4 separate regions of the Homo sapiens genome follow, and all the other regions are linked to region 3. The links are contacts of gene promoters, found by promoter capture Hi-C in human tissues and cell types (Jung and others, 2019). All regions are on one chromosome and are shown on one strand. The core of a region is centred on a gene start or on the middle of the fragment in contact, and the rest is flanking DNA. Distances in the headings are between cores, read along the strand shown. Region 1 overlaps MAML2 (mastermind like transcriptional coactivator 2). Region 2 overlaps CCDC82 (coiled-coil domain containing 82). Region 3 holds the start of MTMR2 (myotubularin related protein 2). Region 4 overlaps MAML2 (mastermind like transcriptional coactivator 2).

The links. Contacts are between HindIII fragments. The study calls those that stand out against the background at their distance.
Region 1: a contact is called between a fragment that was not itself captured here and the fragment with the promoter of MTMR2 in region 3, in 2 of the 25 tissues and cell types used here (aorta and mesenchymal stem cells).
Region 2: a contact is called between a fragment that was not itself captured here and the fragment with the promoter of MTMR2 in region 3, in 2 of the 25 tissues and cell types used here (heart right ventricle and hippocampus).
Region 4: a fragment that was not itself captured here is called in contact with the fragment with the promoter of MTMR2 in region 3 in 1 of the 25 tissues and cell types used here (bladder).

The regions. Positions count from the first base shown.
Region 1 is chr11:96,277,696-96,281,500 of GRCh38, reverse strand. All of the region lies in intron 1 of MAML2 (mastermind like transcriptional coactivator 2), which reads left to right. Among named protein-coding and RNA genes, the nearest start is that of MIR1260B, 62 kb to the left of the region's middle. RefSeq lists an enhancer at 1,720-1,779. The HindIII fragment of the contact is 6,915 bases long and covers 1-3,805 here.
Region 2 is chr11:96,370,402-96,374,267 of GRCh38, reverse strand. CCDC82 (coiled-coil domain containing 82) reads left to right here. Exons shown (of 10, transcript NM_024725.4): 6 at 801-893; 7 at 3,131-3,255. Among named protein-coding and RNA genes, the nearest start is that of CCDC82, 18 kb to the left of the region's middle. The HindIII fragment of the contact is 3,940 bases long and covers 1-3,776 here.
Region 3 is chr11:95,922,537-95,926,314 of GRCh38, reverse strand. It overlaps MTMR2 (myotubularin related protein 2), which reads left to right and starts at 2,208. Exons shown (of 15, transcript NM_016156.6): 1 at 2,208-2,440. The coding sequence starts at 2,361. RefSeq lists enhancers at 1,991-2,120, 2,181-2,230. The HindIII fragment of the contact is 5,565 bases long and covers 1-2,673 here.
Region 4 is chr11:96,218,073-96,221,865 of GRCh38, reverse strand. The region is part of intron 1 of MAML2 (mastermind like transcriptional coactivator 2); the gene reads left to right. Among named protein-coding and RNA genes, the nearest start is that of MIR1260B, 120 kb to the left of the region's middle. The HindIII fragment of the contact is 4,299 bases long and covers 1-3,793 here.

The DNA.
Region 1 (3,805 bases), core at 533-3,032, 360 kb before region 3:
TGCCCAGACCCCAGGGATTCCTGGGCAGATACCACTGTGGGCTACCCTAGCCAGCCTTTTGCAGCCCCATTCCTGCTTGCTTCCCCACACCTCCCCAGCCAGAGCAGACCTGGACCCCAACAGAAATATTCACCCCTAGCGGCAACACTAGCACTCTCTTGGACAAATGTTTAGTGATCTATCCATCACCTGCCACCAGACCCCACTTCCCTTCCATCAGTGGCTATTCTCTGTTGACTGACTCTTCCCTGGAATCACCTTCACATGGTGATTTGTGGGAATTACAGCTCCCATGTTCTTCTGGGTTGTTAAATATTTTGAATATTACCCCCATACATACACTTTTTATGATAATCAGCTTGAATGTTCAGTCTTTTGATACATTTTAAAAGAAAATTCTTAAGTACACATGATTTGAAAACTTGCAAATAATGCATTAATTTGCATTTTAATATTAATGATGCTTAATGTACTCACTACATTGGAAAATACTGTTACAAGTTTTATTAGTTCATTCATCTGAGAGTTAAACTGATATACATATACATTGTTCTTACTTTGTATCAAAGATATGCAAAATACTTGAGTACAGAAGTAATGATGAAGTACCTACCCCTCTGGGAGCTTATAGCTTAAAATGGGATATATATGAGATAAATGAGAAAGGTTTATACCACAGAATAACATTATGTAAATCAATTTAACCAAATAACAACACCAGAGGGAAAGGACTTTTAGCTACCACTCATCATTATGTCCCAATATAATGTTCCAGTTCATGTTGCAAATAGGGCAGCACCCTGGCTATTGTGTGGTAGTCTGTAAGTAGTGAAATAGCTGTGGGGTAAGGCAGTGAGTCTTTCACCTTAGGGAGGGTGCGAGCCCAGACCCACTTGACCATCTATCACAAATCTTGCTGAAGTTCTAAGATCCCTTTCAACTACAAATTTTCATGCTTCCATAGAATCATCCCTGACCTCAGGAAAAAATACAAAAATGGAACAAACAAAACAGAATAGTAAAACCTGAAGTAAGAAAAAAAGAAATGAATTTGACATTGTACAGATCAGGAGAAAGAAAGTTCATTAACAGTTTCAAGATCCCTGCGTTTTCACCCAGCAGGAAACAAATTACCATGAGTTAAGGTGGGGAAATTACTGGCAATTCATTGCCTTCTTTTAAAGACTTTAAAAAAAAATGAGTAAATAATTTTAGACTATTACCCCCTTTCCATGAGAGATACACAGCTAGTTAAACTGCCATGCATATTAATTTTTTGTTTTCATTTTATTCCACCTACCAACTACACAGTGTCTGCTTTCCAAAATTAGTTTGAAAGCCAATGACCTGTGTTTGAACTGGGTGAAATAGCATAGCAGTTCACACCTGGAATAAAAGAATGATTGTGTGTGAGTCTGTTAATGGCTGTGTAGAGCTATATCTCTATATGGAGCTATATAAAAATATATTTTATACATGCCAGATTCATTTAGACTTGAATTGACCCTGTGGTAAAGCAGCAGGAATAAAATATTTTTTTGATAAAGCACTCACTCAAATAGAGAAATGAGCTCTTGCAGTTACCATTTAATCTGTGACTTCTTTTTGAGATGCAGAAAAACTCCATTATAAAGTGCTCAGTTCATCCAGGGACACAGACACACTGTGGGTTATAACACACCCTCATCTGCATGGTGAGGTACATGAGTCAGCTGCTCTTCTCTCAGGAGGGTGGCTTTAAAGCTCCACAGTCATGCATGCTGCCAATTCCAGATTGTCCAAACCTGTAGGTTAGCAAGGACACAGGTGAGCCATAGGTATGACATGTTCATAAAAAGAAAAATATATTTTAATACAAAACATGTCAGGGGAGTGGAGAGTGTCAAATTGAGGACAGGAGAGACCTAGATTCAATGCCATAGTTCTTGGCTAATCTCTGAGAAGCTTGTTAGTCACCCTCTTTCTCCTTCCCTTACTCTCCTGTATCTTCCCTTACATACTGCATAGTCCCTTGTAATTTACAAGACATAAAATACTTCCTTTGTTCATCTGTATACTGAATGTAAGAATGAACAAAAGGTCATCATAAGGACAGCCTGTGAGTTTATGCACTGCATACTGCAAATGACCCACTCCAGCAATGGGAAGACACCCCTAACATTGCTTCTCTCCTTATAACGAAAATATTATTCATCATCAGCTTTAAAATGGATCTTCTCACTCTGTGCAGTCTCCGTGGTAACGTCCCATAAGCCCAGGGTTTTAAGACCTTTCTCCTGTGCTCTAAGCCTACATATCTAACTGCCTAATGGCCTTTCCACTTGAATGACACATCATTCAGTTTCAGTGTCCTAAACTGAAGTTTCAACTCCAAGTCTGTTTTTTTCTCTTGTAGTCTTCATGTCAGTCAATCAGTCTTTTATCCTAACCAGAAATATGTGAGTTCTCATGGATTCCTCCCTCTCACTCACTTTTCAGTTCTATAATCACCCAGTTCCTACATTGTTTGCATCTTAAATATCTCTTCTAGTCCTCCCTTCTCCTTTATACCCACTGCCACTGCCACAATGTTAGCTCCTTCAGATCTCATATTTTCTCACTTTTATTGCTATAGACATACCCCCCGCAGTTATCCTACCTCTAGGCAAATCCCTTCCAAAATGCAGCTGCCAGTGTGATCTTTGTAAAATGCTTTTATGATAAAGTTCAAACTCATTAGCAAAGCACACAAAGACCTTTGTGATGTGGTATTGCTGAATTAAACTACTGGCAGCCCTAGAAAGGTAAAGTGTATTTGATGCTTCTGTGCTGTTCCCTTAGCCCAGAAAGCCCTTCCAGTTTCTGTTTAGTAAAGTCCTATTCATCTTTCACTACTCAATGAGTCATAAGTAATCCCATTAGGAAAGCCTGTGTGATCTACCTCCTCCCTAATTTGCCAGCTTGAGTTTGCTTCACCCCTTCATAATACTCAGTCAATCATAATGTCTTATAATCCATCATAGCACCTCACACAATGAACTCCAATGTCTGGTTTGTTGGGATGTCCGCCTTACTACATTGTAAGCTTCTTAAGGGTAGAAACCAGTTCTGATAGGCTTAGGGCAGTGACCACCAACAGAAAAAGTACTTGGTAAATGTCTAACACAATCTGTTTTACTTTTTCCAGAGCACGAGGCATGCATGAAAGAGATTAATTTACTCCACATGGGAAGTTACTACCCAGGCTTACCAAAAGGTCAGGTTTATATAAAGTGGCGTTCCTTTTTTTCCCCCTTAGTAAGACATTAAAAAAAGAAACCACAATTGAAAAGCCAAGAGCTATCTGTGATACGGAATATGAACACAGAATCAGATTCTCATAGCAGCTAAGCTGTTCCCCAGGCAGTGGTTCTCAAGGTGTGCTTCCAAGAACAGCAGCAGCAGCGGCATCACACATGCAAATTACTGGACTCTGCCCCAGATCCACAGAATTGGAGACTGGGGATGGGGCTTAGCATTCTGTTTTAACAAGTCCTCCAGATGATTCTGTTGTGTATCTAGCTTGAGAATCACTGCCCTGGAGAATGGAAAAAAAAAAAAAAAAGTTCCCACAGAAGGGTTTTAGCAGTTCTAGAGCACCTACTATGTGCCAGGCCATTTATTTTGTTTACCTTATTAACTTTTTCAGGATACTAAATTAGTACTTCAGGATTTAATTCTTCTAAGATATCTTTTATTCCATTTTAAATTATTTTAGAAAGTTCTAATTTTTTTTTTTTTTTTTTTTTGAGGCAGAGTGTCTGTTGCCCAGGCTGGAGTGCAGTGG
Region 2 (3,866 bases), core at 557-3,056, 450 kb before region 3:
GACATCTTCTATATTTCTCGAAATACTCAGTCTGCCCTTAATATGTCTTCACAGGTGCCCTGAGCAGGGCATGTATTCTACAGTGACTGTTGGATCAAGGAATGGGTCGTGGTTGATAGAGAACATTTCCACAGTCATAGTAAACTCTGATCCAAAAGTAATGAGAATAGTAGGAATCTTCTCTCTTAACCACTGCCTGGCCTGTCACAACAGATGATGTCATGTGTGAGATTTGGTTAGCGAGGAAGTGGGCTTAAATATGTGGTATGGGGAAGGAAATAGACAAGTTTTCTAAATTGATGTAGAAAATCCTAAATCTGGGGCAGCATGAAAAGGGAAATGAAGTTTTTGTAGCCATTGGGGTTCTGGCTAAGATAGCAGTTCCCTGGACAATTTCATATGTAACGCGTTTTACAGAATAAGACATATTAATCTGTCTTTGGAGGTTTTCTCTCTTGTTCTGTCACTCTAAGTGTCAAATTGATAATTAAATATAGGTGTGCAAGGGATAATTTTTATTTTTTAAACTTATTTTAATATTCTCTGAACAGTTTTCTTAAGTTTGGGAAGTAAAGATTTGAAATTACAAGTAGACACTTTGGATTGGAAGCCAGTAAGTTTGGAAAATGGAGATTTGCTCCGTGACTAAACAAGTCATCGAGGAAGCTATAAAATTAGGATGATTAAGCTGTTTGTGCTATCTATAGTTTTAATTTCTTAGCAGTGGAGAATGGAACCTATTGTATTCAAGAAATTATTTTGTCTGCTCTGTTCTAATATTTATTTGAAATTAATTTCAGATTCTTTTAGTGACCACTATACTCATTTTGAAAGAGTTGTGAAGGCTCTTCTGATCAACGCTTTAGATGAATCTTTTCTGGGAACATTATATGGTAAGTTAATACTATGAATGAAACAATTGGTTTTTATTTCTTTTTCCAATTTTAAAACAACCTCACTTTTAAAACTATGTAGATTAAACAAAACCAATGAGGATCATTTGTAAGACCTTCCAATGTTTTCCCTGTAGGATCAACTACATCAAAACTCCATTCATGTAAAATGCTTGTTAGTGTTCATTATCTGAGATATGTGGAAGGTAAGTTTGTGACAGGTCCTTTCCCTTAGGGAGTTAACAGTGAATTTGACAGGATAACACCTAAAACAGCAGAGTGTCTTAATACCCATGTGCCAAACCCAGCCTCTCTGAGCTCTGAATTTCATTAAAAGTTCCATGCTGTTTTCTGCTTTTGTGCCTTTGTCCATGCTGTTTCTTCTTAGAATAGAATCCCTTTTTGTCCCAGATGTTTTAGGTGAGTGTAAAAACATTTGTACTATGAATCTATCTATGACCCATTCACATAATATTTATCATTCTCATTTGTGCCGCCATCATTCTGAGTATGGTAATACTCATAGTACTCATTTATATGCACTTTTCATGTTGTATTGAAAATGTATTTTTGCTTTCTTCCCTTATCATAGTGTGGGAGCAAATTTATAAATATATATATAAATATACGTATATTTATATATTTATATATATAAATATATATGTATATATATATTTTTATATATTTATTTATATTTATATATGTTTATATATATTTATATTTATATATATATTTATATTTATATATATATATCCCCATTTCTCTTGCATCTAGCACAGAATCTGGCATTTAATAGACTATAAATATATTGTGTTGAATAACTAATTGCCAAATAAGATTTCATTTACAATATATTGAACAAATATTTATTGAATGTCTACTATAAGCTAGGCATTATTTGAGGGCTGGGGATGTGACAGTGACTTAAGGCATATTAGATTCCTGCACTCATGTTACTTATAGTCTAATGGGAGAGACAGACAATAAATGAGTAAACAAAATATAATACGATTTCAGTGGTGATTAGTTCTTGCAAAAAAATAAAATAGGGTAAGAAGATTGAGAATAAGGGAAGGTAAAGTTTATGTTATCTGCTAGTTAGATTAGTCAAAAAAGGCCTCTTGGGGTAGCTTTTAAACAGAAACCTGAATGAAGCAAAGGGAGCAAGTAATACGTGGATTACTTGCTTAGCAGAGGGCAAAGGAGGTGCTAAGGCCTTTAGGAAAGAGTAAGTTTGGTGTGTTCAAGAACAACTAGAAGGCCTTTGTGGCTGAAGTGGAATGAGACAGGAGAGAGGGAAAAGAGAGGAGCTCAGAGGAGTAGGCTGAGGACAGAAGGGCTTTGTAAGCTATGGTAAGGTGTTTGAATTTGTGATTATTTAAAGAAACATGATAAATTTATTAGTTAAATTAATTAATAAAACTTCAAATAAGGCAAGAAAATAAAGCTTAAATTCATACGATGACAGATGTATATAGAGAATATACTATGAGCCAAATCAGAAAGGCAGTAATGAGTGTAGCATGCTAAAGAAGAATGAGGAAAACGCCTAGCTAGAAAAGAGTATTCTGATTTGTTGACACAAGGAGTTACCATGGGATCAGTAGAATGGAGTCAATTGTAGACGGCCTTGAAAGCCTATTCAGAAGTTTGAACTTTATCTGGAATTCAGGGGCTAATTCATGTCAGTTTTGTATAAGAGAATAAAAGATAATTTGATAAGCTTTTTCATCTGACTTTTTTTGTTATCAGAAAGTAATGTTAAAGCTTGATGCTTACAAAGGGAACTTTTTGAGACGGAGTCTCACTCTATCACCCAGGCTGGAGTACAGTGGTGCGATCTCAGCTCACTATAAGCTCCCCCTCCCGGGTTCACACCATTCTCCTGCCTCAGCCTCCCGAGTAGCTGGGACTACAGGTGCCCGCTACCACGCCTGGCTAATTTTTTGTATTTTTAGTAGAGATGGGGTTTCACCGTGTTAGCCAGGATGGTCTCGATCTCCTGACCTCGTAATGCACCCACCTCGGCCTCCCAAAGTGCTGGGATTACAGGCATGAGGCACCGTGCCCGGCCTACCCTGTTTTTCCTTAATGTTCTGATGGAATGATTTTTTAAATATTTTTTTTCCTAATTTAAAATGCTTCCAACCAAGTTGGGAAGAAATTTTTAAGTATTAAATAGTTTAAATATTTCTAATTAACAAAATGATTTTTTTTGTTGTTTATCCCCTGAACAGATGGCACAAGGCAAAAATCATATGCAAAAGATATGCTAACATCTCTTCATTATTTGGATAACCGCTTTGTTCAGCCTCGTCTAGAGAGCTTGGTATCTAGAAGTCGTTGGAAAGAGCAATATAAGGTACACAGTTTGTTTTTGAATCTCTGCTTGGGGGTTGGGGGCAGCAAACCTCTCAGGATTTTAAAATCCAGACTGAATAATCTTCTAAAATATTGGCATGTCTTTGTTAAATAATCAGCTTATTATTTCTCACATCTTCTAAAAGTTATTATTGTTTTAATCCTTCACATTAACTATATCTATCCAATAATTAAGTGGTTCCAAATGATGAATAACTTCAGAACATCTCCAGGGCTTAGCCCATCTTTTAAAATGAGAAGATTGTCTCACACGGTGTTGTTATGTCAGAAAAGAGAGTTCCATGGTCAAAGAAATTTGAGAATCAGGGGTTGTAAGCTGGTTTCTTTACTGGAAGACTTTTCCCAAGCATTATATGTGAATTTATGTTATAAATATTCAAAGGGTGGTATGGAATGCAGTATTTCCTAAATTTGTGTTTTACTCTGTGAAGCTCTGTTTATGTAAACAGGTAACACCTGTTACCTGCTTGATTTCCATAACACATTGTTTGGGAAACACTGGTCTAGATAGTGTTTGGCATCTTTCTTTGCTTTAAGATTGCTTAATTCTACCAATTTGAAGAATTTATAATTTATCTTTTTAATTTATAA
Region 3 (3,778 bases), core at 959-3,458:
TATTGAGAATAAGTGTTTAGGAACTTTCACGAAACTTTCAAGGAGTAATATCTGTTAAATCTAATAAACAATTTGGCCTTGTATTTTGCAAACCTTTTTCTTTAATTTTCCTAGTGCAGTTATCCCTTAGTATCTGCAGGTTATTGGTTTCAGGACCCCCAAGGATAGTAAAAGCTAAAGATGCTCAAGTCTCTTAAATAAAATGGCATTAGTGTCTACATATAACCTATGCATACCCTCCTGTATACTTTAAATCAACTCTAGATTACTTATAATATCTAATACAATGTAAATGTTATGTAAATAGTTGTTATACTGTATTGTCTTCTATTTGTATTATTTTGTTTTTTACAATTTTTACAAATTTTTCAATCTGTGGTTGGTTGAATCTGAGGATATGGAACCAACTGTGATTAATTTTTCTTATATTTTAAAAAAGTTTTGGTTGGTGATGGTTTGAAAATTAAAAACAAAACACTGTTCCTTCTTGCAGATAGTTTGAGAAAAAACAGCCCAGATTATAAATTGAAAAATTAATAACTTTTGGTGAGGTCCCAAGTTAACCATGTTTTTTCATTTTCTTAGAGTTCATTAATTAATTAGAGTTCACTAATTAATTTCCAGCTGATATTCTTTGCTTGTGTTTTCACTCTGAGAAGTTACCATTTTACCAGTCAGGTTAGAAGTCAAGCAGTAAGTTCAGTGGAAAAACAAGTAATAATAAATCTACTTAGTGAGACCGTACTGTGCAACCGACTCTGCACAGAGAAAAACAACCTATTACGTAGATATTTTTATTCCCATTTTATTCCCATTTTAGAGATGTGAAACAACTTAACCACAGCACAGAGCAAGTGTAGAGACAGAACCGGGATTCCGATGAAGATCTGTCTGGTTCCAAAGTCTCTACACTTTTACTACACTGTTCTTTATTAATCACTAGATAGAACCATACACATATTGTTACATCAGGCAGAAGGTTTCGAGGGTTCTATTAACAAAGTGCTACGAATGAACTGGGTGGAAGAAAGTACATAGGTCTCCCATTCAAGGGTTCATCAGCCTTCACTAAGGAAATTTAAGTCAAAGTAGCTGACAGTGAGTCAGCATTTTGGAAGGCAGGTAGAGATGGTGAAGAAATAAGGAAATTCTTCTATGAGTCATGATAGATATTTAAGCTTGTTAAAAAATGTTTTTGACTACCTACTCCCTTTGCCTACAGAGTCCAGTTAAGGTATCTTAAAAATTATGGAAATAAAAACAATCGGTCGCTGTCTGTCCTCGCCAAACTCAAAAAAGGCTAAGCCTTTTGTGCTTAAACACATACTCATCAGTAACTATTCTACCTTACACTGAACATAACTAAGCTAGGTTGTTCTTCTTGGGAATGTACTTGCAAGTTAATACTGCACTGCAACTATAAGGTTTTTTAAAAGACATCAGTTGTACATTATAAATTAAATCTAGTTTAAATCAATATAATTCAATTTATCCTAGCAAGGAAGTTTTTTAAGGATGGTCTGATTTTTTTTTTACAGGAATAATCTTTGCATAATTTTACACCCCATACATGAGATGATTAGGATTCAATCTCAATCAGAAAAATCCCTTTATGGTGTCCTTATGGCTTTCCTGTATCCTAACAGAAAAATCCTAGCAGAAGCATTTCCCCTTTACCCAGTTCCTGTTCTCTTATCACAGTTCTATTCCTCCACACTCCCTTCCTGCTAGGCACGGGAATTTGAAAGGGCAGGGAAAAATCGGTGAAAGTTTGTCTTCTACTTGGGTAATCCAACACCACCGCATCCAGTAGTATATAATTCTTTTTGCATGTATATCAGATCCTCCCCAATCCCTCTCCCATACCTCTTTCTCACTTTTCTCTCATTATCCGGTCCTCTTGTTTTCCTTGACCCCCACATTCCTGTCTAAATCATCCTCCTGGCCTCAGGTCCTTATCGCCTTCCTGAGACCCTCATGTTTAGTGTTCCCTCATTCCTCTTACACCTAGGATTTCTCCTCCTTCCATAAGGGTCTGGTCCTTCATCCCTCCCGCTTCACCAGACCCCCTCACCCTGGGAGCCGCCACCTCCCTTTCCCCAAGACCAGATGTCGCGCGGCCGGACACAGCCAGCACGGAGAGTCGATGCCGGCGTCTGAGCTGCGCAGTGGGGTCTTCCCGCTGCCCAGCAGCCTACAGGCGCGGTGCACTCTGGGGGAACATGGCCGCTTCCGGTCTCCCTCCCGGGCCGGCGCTGGCCTGACTGCGGCCCCGGTCCGTAGCACTCCGCCCTCCGCTTCTCCCGCCCTGTAGCCGCGAAGACTGCTTCAGCCTTTCCCTGTGCTGCCCCTGCCGCGCGATGGAGAAGAGCTCGAGCTGCGAGAGTCTTGGCTCCCAGCCGGCGGCGGCTCGGCCGCCCAGCGTGGACTCCTTGTCCAGGTAACCAGGACGCCCAGGGCCCCGCCCAGCGTCCGAAGGGGATGGAGAGGGGCCGGGGACCTGCTGGATTGTTGCCCCAATTCGCGGATTCTGGTTTCTGAAGGCTACGCCGGAATTCCTTCCCCGGGACTTGGGAACCACTTCTGCCTCCCTCCCTGGGGCGTGGAGGCTGAGGAAAAGGAGGTTAAAACTCGCTGCTTCTTTATCGATTCCTCTACCTTTCATATTCCGATCTCGTTTTCTCCCCGATGGAGGTGGTCCCAGTTAATTACTTTCTCCTGTCTTTCATTCCCTCTCAAACCTTTTTTAAGACAGTTCCCCCCGCCCCCATTCTTTTCCCCACATTTCCTGTCTTTCTCTGTCACTTTTTCCAAAACCATCCTAAAGTCAGTCTTTCCTCCTCCACCCCTTCTTATGTCTTTGGTTTTTGGGTTCTTGCCCAGCCCTTTTCTCTCTTTTCATGGCTTCACCTTCTTAATTTCTTTCATGCTTTTCTCTACACTCTGATTTTCTTCTCGCCTCCCTTTTTGCTTAAATATGTAAATAAAAATGTCTCCTGTGCTTCTCTTTTCTAAATCTTCCAGCTGAAAGTCAGTATCAAGGAATCTGAGTGGTTTTTATCCCCAGTGATAGGTTTAAGAAAACAAAATGAGTGGTAGTTTTCTTCCTTCTTGGGCTACTGGTTCTCCACGTTGTCATTTCTCTTGTAACAGATGGGAATTTTATCCTGGAATTTTGAGGAGGACTTTATGCAGCTTTGCAGAGAGCTTTTATGAATATTAACTAGACGCGTTTTGGATGCAGTCTTTTTCTTTGATTTTAAAATAATGATTTAAAAATTTTTTAAAAAATAATATAAGACCTGTATTTGCTTTTTATGCAGCCACGATGAAATCTGGTTCTTTTCCACTGAATAATAGTCTAATTGTTATTAGAGAGTGATTCGATAACTGCTGTGTGAAAACACACAATTTTCATTTTCTCCTTCAATCAGTTGAAGTGGCTCTATTATAATTCATTTTGGATTCTGCTAAATATGGGTAGTTATTGCCTTTTTTCCTGTTGATGTTCAGCACCTCACTGGGGAACCACTGTCTGATCCCGTCATTCTACATTGCCATATGCACTCATAGCTCCCTGCACAGTCGTTTTTCAGAGTCTTTAATAAGCACACTATAATTGTTGGCTTAAAGTGCCTTTTCTACCAGGTTATAAGCTATTATACTTGAGGGCAATCTTAATCATCTTCATATCTCCAGCACTTAACATAGTCTCAGCATGTGATAGGTGCTCACTAAATGGTTTTTTTTTTTTCGAATTTGTAGCCTGAATTATCCA
Region 4 (3,793 bases), core at 617-3,116, 300 kb before region 3:
TACCAAGACCTGGTCCTATGTGTGCTGACCTTGTTCTTCTGCTCACATCTGCCACATCTGCAAATGTGGCAACATTTTAGCTGTTTTCTATTAACACTGAAGTACTCTGAGAGCTTGGAAATTTTCAAGTGCAAAATCAGGTCCAGAGAACAGTAAAAAAAAAAAAAAAAAAAAAAGCTTGACTGAACTGCCACTCACATCTTCCCTATACTGTGCAGAAGCAAAGAGCTCAATACTGATTTTGGTTTTGTGGTTGAAGGCAACTGCTATGAAACTTCTTAAGTGGTTCATAGTTGTCCATATTTTATCCTTATGATTGAAACAATATTTCCTGCTTTCCCCAGAGTAATAATTTTAAAGGTGGGGTCTCTAACCTCGGGTATAGCCTGGCCTCCACAGTGTTACACTGTTCCCAAAATGACAGGGGATACAAAACAGATGGGTCACACTGCAGGCTGCAGAAGTGGGATTTTGTTCCTGAAGACAAACCCCACACTACAGGAAAGGCCCAGCGCTATCTCTGAGTCTTGATAGGTTTGGAATGACTTTAAAGTTATTAATCAAGAAGTGAATAGGTGGAAACTTGGGAACATGTCCTTCTCTGTGGTTAACAGTGGGAACAGCAAGGCTAATTGCTTTAAGTCTAAATAATCAGAAGCTGTAAACTCTGTCACCCAAACTTCCAGTTTATGTCACTGGCTTTCTGGAGGCTGCATTACAGTGTTGTGGTGGTGAAATTATTATTAATTAATGACCATAGTATTAATAACACTATATACTGTGAACTTATTTTATAGTAATACATCTCCTCAGTGCTCAATAAATACTTGTTGAATAAATACTTTCTCATTAGTTGGTTCAACAAATGCCCATTGAATACCTGTTATGAAAAAGGCACTGGGTACTGATCCAAAAATGAATTTGTTTTAGCCAGAGTCTTCCAAGAGATTAGAGTTTTACAGATATTATCCTGATGAATGAACAACCCAGAAAGGCATCCTCCTTTCAGTTTGATGATGCTTTTTTTTTCACTTTTTATATAAAAGATTTTGAATTTGCTATTTTGAAAAATCCAGTAGAGGTTTCAGAGGATGTATTTGAAACTTGTATTTTTTTAAATCTATGTCTGACTGTTAAGGAAATTGTACTTTTTTCCAAGTTACTCTATTACCTATAATACAACCAGAAATAAAATGTTAAAAACTCAAGCTCATGCATACCCAAGGATGACAAAAAAAATTCTGCATGTATAAGAACACTTTACATTGCATTTTGTAACAACTTGCAAAGAAGATAAATAATATGTATGACTCCAGATTGCAGTAAACAGACTCCCACTTAGCTTAGCTTTTAAGTTATGCAACTTCCTCACTGATGACTTAGAAAAAAATAAAGAGGCAGCAAATAGTCAATAAAGAGTAAGGCAGGAAGCATGTGCTGACTCTGAGTCCCAGGAGGGCTCACCATGTCCGGTGCCACTAGGGAAACAAATCTCTAAGGCAGTTGAAATTTTCCTGCTTCTCACATAATCCCAAGCAGAGCACAAGGCAGTGGCTTAAATCTGCAGGTTTAAAGGAGCACAGAGAAAGAGAAATAAGAGAATGAAATCTGTACCCTAAGAGAGTGAAGGAGGGTCACTCATTTGTTTACAGGCAGTGTTCCCCCACCCCCTTCTCTAGACAGCAAGGAATTTGGAGCCTCTGTCAACTCTCAGGCAAAGATCCTTTGATCAATTCACGTAGGGCCTGATAACGCATGGACACTGTGGGAGATTAAAAGAAGATAGTAATATTAATATAAAGATCATGGCAATGATAACAACATGCCACCATTTAGTGTCTTTGTGTTTCCCAAGAGTTAACACTATACATGCATCAACTCATTTAATACAACATGATGAAATAGTCTCATTTTACTGAGGGATTAAAAATAATAAACTGATGGCTGAGTATGTTGGCTCACACCTGTAATCTCAGCACTTTGGGAGGCCGAGGTGGGCAGATCACAAGGTCAGGAGTTCGAGACCAGCCTGACCAACATGATGAAACCCCATCTCTACTAAACATACAAAAATTAGCTGGGTATCGTGGCAGGTATCTGTAATCCCAAATGCTCAGGAGGCTGAGGCATGAGAACCACTTGAACCCAGGAGGGTGGAGTTGCAGTGAGCCGAGCTTGTGCCACTGCACTCCAGCCTACATGACAGAGTGAGACCCTGTCTCAAAATAATAATAATAATGAACTGAGACTCAGAAAAGATGTTTGTTCAGGGTTACAAAGCTCAGACAGGACAGGGCAGCATTGGAAACCAAAATTGGTCTGACTCCTAGGCTCATGCTGTAAATCACGGTGCAAGGCTTCTACTATCTATGTTTTTCCTAAAAGAATGTATAAATGAAAAGATGGTTAACATATTAAGCAAAATATGTTAAACGTCAAATGAACTGTATAAACGATAAATGCTGGAGAGTTGAGGTGGCAAAGAACTCATGCCCGAGGTGATCTGGGAAGGCCTCTTGAACAAGGTGGAATTATAGCTGGTTTTTGAAGAATCCGAAAGTGCTTAGATTGAAAGGTGAGACATGTACAGGAATGGTTTCTAAGATGTCATATTTTATCTCTGTCCTCATCTTGACTGGCACTAATGAACATCAAAGATTTCAACCTAAATACATTGAGTGCCCAGTATGTGAAGGGCCTTATTTATGTTGTTTTAAAGCTTTTTAACATACTTTAAAGAAGGGACTGGTTAATCTCCACTGTCTAGATCCATTAGACCCGGAGCCGGATGGCCCCAGGGGCCTTTGGGAATGGCGTGGTGGGACAGTCTCCACTTTTGCACATACCCAAGAAAAGAATGGTCCTTTGGGAATTTTGCAGACCTACAATCTGGAGATAATGTACTTCTGATCATAATTCAAGTGCCCCCAGATATAGGGTTGCCAGATTTAGCAAATAAAAATATAAAATGCTCAGTTAAATTTGAATTTCAGATAAACAATGAATTATCTTTCAGTACAAGTATGTTTCAAATATTCCATGGGACATACTTATAACTTTTAAAAACTTATTTGTTATTTATCTGAAATTCAAATTTGACTGGGCTTTTACATTTTATTTGGCAACCTACCCAGTCAGGAATTGGAGGGAAAATTTTGAGATTTGAATTTTTTGGCATACATAAATACTCTTCTATGTGAAGACCTCAAATAAACTAAAAAACAAAAAGAAAAAGTGTCAGTATTATACATTCCCATAAAATATGCTCCATTTTAAAATGAGACCAATGGGGCAGGAAGTTACCTCACAAAAGTAATTTTGTGGAAATAATATAAAAATCTCTGAGTTTTTATACTTTATTTATTCAAGAAATTCTGGCCTTAAAATAGTAGTCAGTTGACCCAAGTAAGTCACTTGCTCTGCATCAAGATAAAAATGCATTTCATGCTGTGTACGCTGAGGATAAAAAAAGACATGCTGAAAACTGGATTTCCAAGTAGTGCCCCTATTAAAGATGACAATTAAGTGGGGTTCACCGAGGATGCATGGTGCCTTAGGATTGAATTATAAGAATGATGATTGTTTTTGGAGTTGGAGTCAAATATCAGCCTTTAAACCAAGTCAAAGCCAGGGTTACAGCTGCGTTACAGCTGCCTTCTGTCACTGACACTGCTGTGGAAAAATTCAAAAGGCACACCAAACGTTTTTTCTAGTGCATTTTTCAAAGCAACTTGGAATTAGTACAAGTACCTCGACGCAGAAAGCAAATGTATTTACCTATGTAATATCAAGC